Regions from separate parts of the Homo sapiens genome. Here region 2 is linked to region 1. The links are contacts of gene promoters, found by promoter capture Hi-C in blood cells and fetal thymus (Javierre and others, 2016). All regions are on one chromosome and are shown on one strand. Each heading gives the region's core, a stretch centred on a gene start or on the middle of the fragment in contact. The rest is flanking DNA. Distances are from core to core; before and after follow the strand shown.

The links. Contacts are between HindIII fragments. The CHiCAGO score rates a contact against its expected background, and 5 or more counts as called.
Region 2: a fragment that was not itself captured here is called in contact with the fragment with the promoter of MESTIT1 in region 1 in 1 of 17 cell types (megakaryocytes); the score reaches 5.5 in megakaryocytes.

The regions. Positions count from the first base shown.
Region 1 is chr7:130,488,613-130,494,773 of GRCh38, reverse strand. It overlaps MESTIT1 (MEST intronic transcript 1, antisense RNA), which reads left to right and starts at 3,797. Exons shown (of 2, transcript NR_004382.2): 1 at 3,797-3,932; 2 at 4,807-6,161. MEST (mesoderm specific transcript) reads right to left here and starts at 2,689. Exons shown (of 12, transcript NM_002402.4): 1 at 2,435-2,689. The coding sequence starts at 2,460. RefSeq lists a silencer at 3,652-3,861. The HindIII fragment of the contact is 7,997 bases long and covers 3,222-6,161 here.
Region 2 is chr7:130,400,576-130,406,736 of GRCh38, reverse strand. CEP41 (centrosomal protein 41) reads left to right here. Exons shown (of 11, transcript NM_018718.3): 6 at 2,029-2,173; 7 at 3,938-4,089; 8 at 4,789-4,856; 9 at 5,916-6,030. Among named protein-coding and RNA genes, the nearest start is that of CPA1, 23 kb to the right of the region's middle. The HindIII fragment of the contact is 1,780 bases long and covers 2,527-4,306 here.

The sequences.
Region 1 (6,161 bases), core at 2,548-5,047:
TCTGGATTTGGGCTGAGAAACTGCTCAGGGTAAACAGTCTGTGAAAGTAAGATAGCTGCACTGTGTATTCCAACATAAGCAGCTTTGTCATGACCCTGAATATCTAATCTCTTGAGAGGTCAAGGCGGTAGATTACATTTCTGCTTTTCTTAGCAGACTCTTTAAGTTTCCATTTAATTTCCTAAGATGCTCCCCCACCCCCAGATAAGGCATAACTCATACCCAGCGTGTGAGAATTGATTTTGTCTTTGGAAAAAGAGCACTGGTTGGTACACCCAACCCTCCCATGCCCAGGACTTCAAAGGCACAAGTCAGTTTATCCACATTGACAAGGAGTGCCAAACAGGAATTATAAACCGTTCTGTTTCAAGTCTATGACTTCTGATGGTCAACAGATCAAGAATTGTCAGTAGAATGGAAGTTCTCTCAAAACAGCCAGAATGGAAATAATACCCTCCAAAACTAAAATTAGAGTTGTCATAGAGCTGAAATAAATTAATTGCTAAAGCCCTGGGGGAAATGGCTTTCCGTCTGTACACACATTCTTCCCTATTGCCTGTAATCTACCTACCCGTTCGCTAACTTCCTCAACTTACAAGATACTTTTCCCCCCCATATCCCTGATACTTTTTGCTAAAATCTAAAAACAAGCCTGTGGTTTTACAGTGGTAAAATAACCATGTTTCTTAAACAATGTCAGCTCCCCAGGCTATTTTTTAGGCATTATTAGGGCAGTCATTTCTTTTTTTCTCCAAAGTACCTGTCCATAAGACGGATAGAACCATTTGGTCCTACTTCTCAAGGTAATACTAGAAATGGTTCAAAAAAGTGCCAGAACATGATGGTTATATCACAGTTTTCACCCAACAATAGCAGGCTGTATCCCAGTATCTCCTTGAAAGGTCAGATGACAAAAACCATTAGGTTTTGACGATCATTTGCCCAGCCCTATCTGTCCTGTACTTCAATGTATACATTTTCATGTGCAGATTTCATTACTCCTTTCCCCCAGTGCTTCTCATCGCATTCATCCCCGGGGTTCCAGCAGCTGAATCTCTGCAGTGACTCAGCAGAGAGCCCCGGGAGGGGCGGCCAGAGCGGCAAATGGGGAGGCTTCCCCGCCGCTGCTCAGGGAAAGTGGGGGGTTAAAAAACGAGGCTATCGACCAACATACTCCACTCCTGGACACCCCCCTCCACACCCTCCTCCTCTTACTCCAAGAAAGCAAAGAGGCAACCTCTCAGGGGGCCATTTTTTGTCTTATTACCTCAGTAAAAATGCCCCCATGAACTTTTAGGATTTTTAGAAGTGAAGCAACCTAGCCGTCAGTAGGCAAAATGGGTTAAGCAAACATTTTTTGGCCAAAATCCCAACTATTTGATGAGCCATGAGCGGAGACAATAAGCAAACTCCAGTAACAAACTTTCCAAAAATTTCTGAGCCTTGATTTCTTCATCTTGTAAACAGAAAAACACACTCCCGTAATAATACCACCCAACCTGCCGCCCACCTGATGGCGTCGCCGCGAGACGAACCACTTTGAAAACCCGCGAAACCAAGGTGAACAATCCCTGCGCAACATGACAGTTTGGTCACATCGCCGTTCTCACTCGCGCTTGTTACTGAAATCTGAAAAATACTTAAGGCGGCTGACGGGCACTGCGAGTTCTAGTCACTGCGGTGACTCCCGCCACCGTGATACCTGGGTCTTGAAATCCTAAGCTGCACCGCGGCGATCTCGGCACTGCGATTATCCCGTTCTTGAAATCCTAAGGTGCGCCACGGAGACACCGGGGTTCTAAAAATCCTACATCGCACCAGGGCGATGCTGGGGCCTATCCTTTAAGTCGCACCAGAGCGATGCTGGGGTTCTAAAAATCCTACATCGCACCAGGGCTTTGCCGGGATCTATAAATCCTAAATCGCGCCACGGCAACGGCGGAGTCTAAGAATCCTGAATCGCACCAGAGGGAAGCCGGAGTCTAAATATCCTAAATCAAACCAGGGCGATGCTGGGGGTTAGAAATCCTAAATCATGCTGCAGCAATGACTGAGTATAAAAATCCTAAATCGCACCAGGGTGATGCCAGGATCTAAAAATCCCAATTCGCATCAGGGTGAGACCAGGGTCATTATGGATCCTAAGTCATATCAAGATGACGCTGGGGTCCAGAAATCCTAAATCTCACCACGACGATCCCGGGGTCTAGAAATCCTAACCCAAGGAGGTCCCGCGTTCTGAACATTCCATTGCGGGCAGGAGTGACACCCCCTCCTCAAGTAGGCAGAGCGGGCGCGGAATGCGTGCCGCCTGTCGGTAGAGTTTTCGCCCAGAGGCAGCCCCAGCTCGGACACGGGCACACAGTCCTCCGCTCGCCTGCGCCCTAGTCCCAGGGCCGCCAGCCACACCCCCTCGTTCCCACCGCACACTCACCTGCGGAGGCGATCTCGGCGCACCATGGCCGCGTTATCCCATGCCGCCCGCCGCAGCGTTGCAGAGCACCGGGCGCCGCAGAGCCCGCAGCCGTGCAGAGCTGGCCAGCAGCGGGGGCGCAGCCCGCAGCCCACAGCCCGCGCAGGGCGGCGCCGCGCCGGGCAGCTACAGCCACTCCGGCGTGCGCTGCGGCACTGCGCTTGCGAGGCGCAGCTGCCGCAGAGGAGGTGCCGGGGTGTGCTGGTTGCCGCGGCAGCGCGGAGCGAGTGGGCACCGACTTTTAGAGCCCACCCGCGCCCCGCCCCTAGCCCGCCCATCGCCGCAGAACCCCTACCGCCTGCTCCCTTGCTCGCCGCAGAGCCCCTCCCAGCCGCTCTACCACCGCCATGGCCACAAAGATGGGGTGCCCCTCTAACAGTGGCTCCTTTAGGGGGCACCTTCAGGGGTGTCGAGCCCCCTCCCCAAGACCCCGCTGCTCCCTCGTTAACCGCCAACCCTGAGCCCGAGATTCTGCTGCAGAAACCCTCCCCTGATGAGTTAAGGCCACGGGCAAAAACAGCAGACCCCTGAGTGCCCCAACTCTTTCCTTAGACCACCCACAAACCCCACAGGCCGCCCACAAACCCCACAGGCTGCCCACAAGCCCCACAGGAGGATGGCCGCTCGAACTAAGGGGCAGCAGGGCTCTGGGGTGCCGGCCGTGGCGCCTGCTCCCATCCCTCGTTCGAAGCGTGGGTACTGAACCGTGAGAGGTGGCGAGCCACGAGGGCCCTATGCGCCCTAAGCTTAACTACCGGTAACCACCAAGGGCACGAGCAAGCGGCTAGGGAGCAACAAGCTCTGTTGGACCCACCACCAAGCTAGTAAACAGATTCATGGGATGGCCACTATGGCCAAAGTTGCACAAAGTCCGGTTTCTCCCGCTCCAGCCACCGCCGCTGCGCGGGGCAGGTTTCCTTTACAGCAGCGCGACGTGGTCAGCATGCCAGACGCCTGGCCACAGCAGCGCCCTCGCAGCCCCGCTCGCTGCATGCGCCGGTCCGCGCTGCACAGAACAGTGGGCACAATTAGGAGAGCAAAGCCCCCTTTATTTACGTAAGATAGAATCACAATGCAAGGGCCCAGAGGCACAAGAAAGAGGGAGGAATTTTTCTAATCCATAATCCTTTAAAAGGCATCCCTTACGCCTTTGAAAAGTGTAGAGTATCACGAAGTGTCTGTGTTCATTTTCTGACCGTAAACTGAAATACTGGTGAACAAACGTGGGGTGCGAGCGGGTGAGCGGGGCGGCCGGCCGGTGCCCGCTGCATCCAGAGGGGGCGCTGCAGGCCTCCCTTCGGCTGCGCACGGCCCGGGCCCTCCGCGGCTCTGCAACTCTGCACCCCGAAAGGTTCGGTGCTGGACCGCGGGGCATCCAACCCGGGACCGGGGGCGACCCACGGACACTGAGGAAACTACCGCCTATAAGCCTATCATCAGAACCTCTGGCACAACACAGGTACACTTCTGCAGGGGTCTGGTTGCCCCCAGAAAAAGCACTCATGAAACAAATGCTGATTTAGCACCTACAGGGCACTAAGAACCGGGGGTGCGAAATAAATGAGAAATAGCCCCGGCCCGAAAACAACACACGGGCCATCTGGAGGGGAAGACAGACAAGAACTGCCACTTTGTAAAATTTTCCTTTTAATTTCCTAGCGACGTTTGTGGCAGTTGACCCACTCCTCCCTAACGTGTAAGGCCCTCAGAGGCAGAGCCCAAGTATTATTCACCTTTTGTAGCCCCAGAGCCCGCCACGGTGCCGGCCACAAAGCTGGCCCCTAATAAATACTGCTTGAATGAGTACAAGAATTTGAGGGCGCACAGGGGAGGAAGTAATTAAGGGGAGGGGCGAAGGGTGGTCTTGAATGATGAATAGACATTTACCAGAGAGACAAAGAACATTCCAGCCGGAGGGGACGGCTTTCGCAAAGCACCGGAGGCTCAGGGCCGCGTGTTTGGGGAAAACGGTTAGTCCTTTGAGCCGGCAAAAAATTAGGATAGCAAGAGAATTTCATCGTAGGGAATTAGGAATTTGTTCTAGAGAAAATGAGAAGCCACAGATGGATTTAAACTCTTTATGGCCTTAATTGGTTACTTAACAAAATTTAAATTAGTCTCTTTACAAGTCAAAGATTACCTATTTTAACTACCACTACCTTTTAAAGACTGAATTACTCTGCAAAATCTAAATCGGTTCTTCCAAAAAGGTAAAGGCTTTCCTATTTTAATAATAACAATAACAAAAGCCTTTGCATTATATATTTTTCATATTTATTGTTAATGGAAACTTTGAGTCCTACAAACAAATTCCACACTTTCATTCTCACCAGGCCAGAAACACCAGCATCCAAGATGAAGGCAATTTTCTGTTTATGGACTGAGTACCCCACAAAAGATCTTATTCTGAAGGCCATGGAACATGTCTACCCACATGGATCAAGTGGGCAGACTGGAGGAGAAACAGTTTAAAGGCCCTGGGGGAAGGAGGGAGCGCCAGGGAGAGCTCCTGAAGACAACAGGAATTCCAAGTCTGGCACTCGGGAGAAATCCTCCCTTCAGACATTATTGATGTCTGGCCGAGGAGTTAGGAAAAACTTCCTTGAAGGAGGGATTGAGGTTGAGATGGGCATGGAACCCAGATCTTAGGCAGAGAAAGCATATTCCTGTTTGGAAGAACCCTGAGTACAGAAGTCAGCTCAAAGATATCAGCTTGGCCCAACCAGGAATTCGCTGTGGGAAGTCTAAGAGAGAAAATGCTGGCCATAATCCCCCAGGAGCCAAAGAGTTAACGAATCTTCTAAATGTGCCTGATTTACTTCCAGAAAGGAGCTTCCTCCGCAGGGGGAGAATTTGACCCAAGGTATAAAACACTTGGAGCCCTGAGAAAACACACAGCCACACATAAATTCAAAGTCGGCTCTGGCTTGCTCGAAGTTGCACCCTTTCAGTTCCTCTGGACAGATGCTATCCTGGACTGTGCAGGATATCTCATGCAGTAGTACTCCCTCAGCCAGTGGCTTATCACACATTCTTGTCACATTCCAAGTCTAACACAGTTCCGCCTCATGATAAGACCTCAGATCTGTGCAAAAATTCATGTAGAAAGCTCTGCATTTATTATCTCGCTGATTCACAACAGTGGTATGGGATCAGCAGAGATGGTACCACAGATTCAAGAACCATATTTTTCTAACCCCAGTTTGAGACCCATAATATGACAAGTGCAGGATATTTATGGAGACAACAAGACACAACCGGGACTGCCACTTTCAAGAGCCATCATTGTAGATTCAAATCAACTAAAACACTTCATAATGGGAGAAACTTGGTTGAACAGGAGCACATGTTAACGAAGGGGTTTTGGTTGAGAAACTTACTGAATCAGTAAGACAGGACCCTTAAAAAGGCTACTGTGACTGCAGACTGAGGGGAAGTACCAAAAATAAGCTAATCCTACTCTATTATGCTGGTTAGAACTCACAGAAAGCATTTTATTCTGTTCTACAGAGCAGATACATATTGAAACAGAGACAAATAGGAATGTGTTCAGAGAAGGTCAACTAAATGAATTGCAAACTGAAGGTGTAACAGTTCTCGTATTTTAAGCTCCTACCATGAGCATGGATCTTCACCCAACATATCCCTGATCCTCACAGTAGCCTGGCTAGATGAGTATTTTCACTCA
Region 2 (6,161 bases), core at 2,167-4,666, 88 kb after region 1:
TTTAGCATTTCTTTTATCTAACCACATATTTATTGCAGTTATTCTCATTCTCTTAAAATTTCTAGGTACGTTATCATATCATATGCAAAATAAATTTAATATCCTCTTTAATAATTAGACTTGTTATTTTTATTTTTATTTATTTATTTTTTTGAGATGGAGTCCTGCTCTGTTGCCCAGGCTGCAGTGCAGTGGCACGATCTCAGCTCACTGCAACCTCCACCTCCCAGGTTCAAGTGATTCTCCTGCCTCAGCCTCCTGAGTAGCTGGGATTACAGGTGCCTGCCAGCACACCTGGCTAATTTTTATATTTTTAGTAGAGATGGGGTTTCGCTATGTTGGCCAGGCTGGTCTCGAACTCCTGACCTCAAGTGATCCACCCGCCTCAGCCTCCCAAAGTGCTGGGATTACAGGTGTGAGCCACCATGCCCGCCCTGTTATTATTATTTTTAAAAAAACTTTATTGTATTGGTTAGAACAGCAAATTCTCAAACGTTTTGTTCTCTTCCTCCACTCTATTAAAAATTATTGAAGATCCCAAAGAGCTTTGGTTTATGTGCTTTATGTCTATTAATATTTAGTGTATTAAAAATTTAAACTGGGAACTGAAACAGTATTTATTTATTATTTCACTTAAAAATAACCATACTAAACCCATTACAAACATACATAACATGTTTTTATGAAAAATAGCATTATTTCCAAAACAAAATTTTGCTGAGAACGTCGTTGTTTTACATATTTTGTAAATCTCTTTAGTGTCTGGTTTAATGAAAGGATTGCTGATTTTCCTCTCTGCTTCTGCGGTGTCTGTCGTGATGTGCTGTTTGTGTTAAAGTGTGTGAAGAAAATCCAGCTCACACAAACCTGTAGGTGGAAAAGGGAGAAATATTTCAATAGTCCTTTCAGATAAAACTTGACAACTGCTAGTTTCTTAAGGATTAGCTGTAATGTAGAATCTGAAATCATATCAATGAATCTTTCATACTGTTAGATTAAAATCAGGCACTTGCAGTGTAACTGTCTTATACTTTGAATCTTTTACCCATGCATGATTGTATAACATCATGCACTGGCCATTTAGAGAATATTGGTTCACTGAGTTATGAAGATCTTCCCAAAGGTTAATACATTTTATTATACAACTGTCAAAAAAATCACATATATTATTCTCACTATCTATCTTACCAAAAAGGTCTGTAAGCATGGGGAAGCAGCTCCCCATACTTCGGTTCCTGATGGCAAATATAGTTTCCAAAATTCTGAGTTTGGCTTAAAATATAATCATTGGCAACAATGCCATCAGTAGTGTTCCCTGAAATAACAAACAGGCTTATTTAGTTCACTTTTGAGAAAATGTCTGCCAAATATACAAGTCTAACTAACCATAGTTTTTCTGTCAGTTTTTCTTCCAAGCAAAAATGGTGTGCATAGCAAAAGTTACTGGTTCAGCCTGCAACTCAGCAATCACACTAATACTTTTCCTTGAGATAACCCTGGTAATTTGGTATGTAGCAAACGTGATGTATGTGGACTCCTCACCTCATCACACAGAACATTAAAAAAAGCATGTACTTACTTCAAGGTGAGATGTAATAAGAATAGTAAGTGTTACTGCTTTAACAGGGACCTTCTTGTAGTGTGACTGCCATACTTATTTACTGTGAATGCATGCGTGATGGTGAATAATACAATGATTGCTAATAAAGCTTGGTGCCACAGCCCTGATTCTTACTAAGGTGCTAGCAGCTTTATCCACCATTTCTTTTGTACCATCAGTGCAAATATAAACACAGTAAAAAAGACAAGTAACATCTCATGAAAATAGTTTTTACCTTGCAGATCCCCTGAAAGGGCCTTGGGGATGTTTGGGGTCCACTACACTTTGGGAACTTGTACGTTAGCACTTCCACGACAATTTAATAATGATGATAAGATTTCCTTTTCTTGACTTAATGTCAGTGGAACTAATAAGTAAATACAAATCCTGAGGTTCAATCTAATTATTTCTTCATTTGTAAATATTAGACAATGATTCTGCAGCTTCAGACCCTGATGCTGAAACCACTGCCAGGACCAATGGGAAAGGAAATCCAGGTGAGCAGTCGCCGAGCCCTGAGCAGTTCATAAACAACGCAGGAGCAGGGGACTCCAGCCGCTCAACTCTTCAGAGGTACTCGAAGCTGATTCATATTTTCACTGCATTTTGCCTTTATATTAATCTAGACGCCAATTTCAGGGATCTTTTTTTTTTCTTGCCTTAGAAACAGAACTGGCAGGAGTAAAGTCTCACATTTTAATCCCAGCCTTCTACTTTATCTTTATATAAATGCTACCTCCTGAATCTTTTTCACTGCATTCTTACTGAGTTAATGTGAGAATATATTAATAGGAGAGTTTAATTTTCATTTCTCGTTCCATTCTTCTCCCTCCTACATATAAGTTTGTTATGAGGAATTAGCTTTACAAATACTATCTTTTGATTCAGAGAGTATGATTTTTCCCCCTTTTCCGACTGCTGAAGCTTATAATACCCTGTCCGGAAGTGACAGTGCCACACATAGTGCTCTGATACTGAGTAGGTGCAAAGGAAAAAGCAGTACTTGGTGTTTATTCTAAAGCTGAATGTGGCTGTTCCTTCTTTTTATTTTATTTTTCTGCTCCTTCTTCTAAGGCATGGGCCTCCTTATTCCAAGGATTACATGGACTTTAGTCCGTGTAGTACTTTCTAACTAATATTAACTGTTGATTATAGGGCAGTACTGATTTTCAGCAGATGTCCATCCCTTTGACTGATAAAATAGTTCTGGAGAAATTAGTTCTACCAGAGAAAGAATTGCTATCATCATCCCACCATTATTATTATTCTTTTAGCTTTATATTATTATAGTTACTTTTGCGAGAGGACTCTAAAATTGCACTCAAGAAGAGATAGGCCAACAGGACTTCCACTGAGGATGCAGTTTCTTATCAAACAGATGTTCTTCTCCTTTGGTTCAACAAAATATGCACTATATAGCATAGAGTTATAGTGTTTATTGGATTTAAATGCAGAATTTGATTTGCTGTTATGGGAAAGGAGCTATGCTACATACTAATCTGTGATTTAGCATATGAGTCTTAATATTTCCTAAGAAAGTAACCATCTTCTTATTCCAGTAAGGATATTTCACTGCTTGCCATTTTGTTCATAACACCTAGTCTTGTTATTACTTTGATTCATGTTTTTACCACATTTTCCCTATAATATTAAGATGGTGACCAGTTTCAGTGATTGAATGACCTTAGAATTAGAACTGTTAGTGGTAGTGGTTAGCTTCCTCATTTTAATCCCAGCTCTTCCTCTGCCTCATTCTATGAATGCCACCAAATCTAAAGCCTCGTCAACCTCAATGTTGTAACCTATAAAACTGGAGTAAGTACAGAGAGCTATGTAAGTATTAAGACTCAATACCATAGCAGATATGTCACTGACTACGTATATGAAATATATAAAGCATTATTGTTACTTTATATTACTTACACGTAGAAAGAAATGTCTTTCCTTTTTCCTGTCCTACCAACCATATTCTTCCCTCTTTCGCTCTACTGGATTCACAGTTCCCCTCTTTCTCCCTCTGATGCTGCCCTTGTGGCTAGAGGCAGCATGTGCCCTTCAGTCCCTACCCCCTCAGCCATGTAATGCACTGACACGCATTGTCTGAAGGTGAGTGTGGACATGTGGGTCTCCTCTGTGGGGTCCAGTGTAGTAGAAGAGAAAATCCACAGGATCCTGCATTCAGAGGCAGAACTGAGACACCACGTCCATTTTCCTTTGCCTTTGAAGCGTCCTTTGAAAAGACATTGAGCACTCACCTCACTATTCTGAAGAGACACGTTCGACCTTTAAGCCACCAACCTCTGACTAGTTTCTGCTGACCTACTTTTTCACTTGCAGTGTCATCAGTGGTGTTGGGGAACTGGATCTAGACAAAGGGCCAGTGAAGAAAGCAGAGCCCCATACCAAAGACAAACCTTATCCTGACTGCCCCTTCCTGCTGCTAGATGTGCGTGATAGAGATTCTTACCAGCAGTGCCACATTGTTGGAGGTAAGAGAGAGAAGGCTTTAAAGTGCCTCACTCTCAAGAACAGAGAGCCTGCTCTTGAGTCTAGGCAGGCTGGAACCACAGCCCATGGTAGACAGTTGAGGAAACCGTATGTTAGCTGGATCCATTATGGAATCCTATAGGGTTGGCTCCACCATAAAATACTCTTGAGAGGCTGCTGATTTTCACAGATGGCTGTCAGAAGCAGGGAAGTGAAGCTTCATGCTTTGTTCATAGTGCTCTTTCTTTTCTTTCACAGAAGTGTTTAGGTTTATGGCTTGTTGATTTTTTTTTTTGTTTTTTTTTTGTTAATACCTTGCTCTGTTGCCAAGACTGAAGTGTAGTGGCGCGATCACAGCTCACTGCAGCCTTGCCTTCCTGGGCTCAAGTGATCCTCCTACCTCAGCCTCTCGAGTACCTGGGACTACAGGCATATGCCACAACACCCGGCTAATGTTTTTGTATTTTTTATAGAGATGAGGCCTCACCATGTTGCCCGGGCTGGTCTCAAACTCCTGGACTCAAGCGGTCCACCCACCTTGGCCTCCCAAAGTGCTGGGATTATAGGTGTTAGCCACCATGCCCAGCAGCTCATGGATTTTGAAGATGTATTTAACTCTTAGATTTTAAACCAGCTGGGAATTGAGGCCAAGTTGTATTAAGAGAACAACAGACTTCCTAAACTTTTTCTTCTCTTTGCAGCTTACAGTTACCCAATTGCAACTCTGTCTAGAACAATGAACCCTTATTCAAATGATATTCTTGAATATGTATCCTTTGTTGCATTTTAAGGAATTGGGTGGTATGAGGATTGTAAGAATCAAAGTTATCATGAACCACGCTCCTGGTAAGAATGCTGTGAAGGACCTTTGATATTATTTGGCTGAGCATATTTTAGAATTTGGATTCCTAGCTATTGCCAAGAATCCTGACTCTTTAGGCGGATGCTTTCAAACCGTCTTGCCCTGGGCCAAAAAACACTAGGTTAAGAGTTAGGATCCATTGAGAGTTAGTCCTAAGAGAGTTTTTTTCCTCCCAGAAAACTTTCCATAGCAGAACTTAGGGTTTTTTTCTATTTTAATTTTTTCCTTTAAAATTTTAATTTTTTCATTGATAAAAATTATACAAGCAGAAAATAATTTAAATACCAAAAATTATTAAAAGGAAAATTGAAATATCTTATAATCACACAGTTGAGCAGTGGCTTCTATTACATTATTAGTATATTTTATTCCAGACTGTCTTCTGTGTGTTTGTTTTTTTTTAACAAAGTTGAAACCTTACTATATATGTAATTTAGTATCCTGCTTTTTTTCAGTTCATATCCCGATGTATTTCCCCATGCTGATGCAAGCCTTCTGTAAACCACATTTTTGATGCTGTGTAATATCTTCAGATTTACTATGATTTACTAAAATATTCCTTTATTTTGGACTTTTTAGATGGCTCCCACATTTTTACTGTCATAAATAGGCTTCAGTGGACACATTAGGCATAGAAGTTGTTCTATTTCTTCATCTGTAAAATGGGGATTGTAATATTTACTTTCCAGGGTCATAGGGATAAGAGAGCTAAAGGATGTAAAGTCCGGAACTAGTGCTGTCTTTTAGATCATGGTAACATCAGTTTGCAAAAGAAACGAATACCAGCTTGTGTGGTTTCCATGATGGGAAACCATCCAGTCCCTGCTGGTGTGACGGTAGGAATGGGCTTGTCCATCGTTCCCGGGAACTCAGACAGGTGGACCTGACCTTTTATTCCTTGGGGGTTTCTCGTAGTCTTGGGACATCAGCCCAGTGCCTTGGAACCTTAACTCATCTGACTCTTAGAAAAATGCCCATGGCAAGATCATCATTCTGTATGACGATGATGAAAGGCTGGCCAGTCAGGCGGCCACCACCATGTGCGAGCGTGGATTTGAAAACCTCTTCATGCTTTCCGGAGGTGAGCAAGGTGATACTCTGCTTGGGACTTCAAAGGCTGATCATCCTTCAGTCCCACCTGCATCCCCTTTTCTCTCTTGGTGCTCAGAATTCAGTGTTCTGGAAAGAGAAAAAGCCATGCTGGCTGAAAGG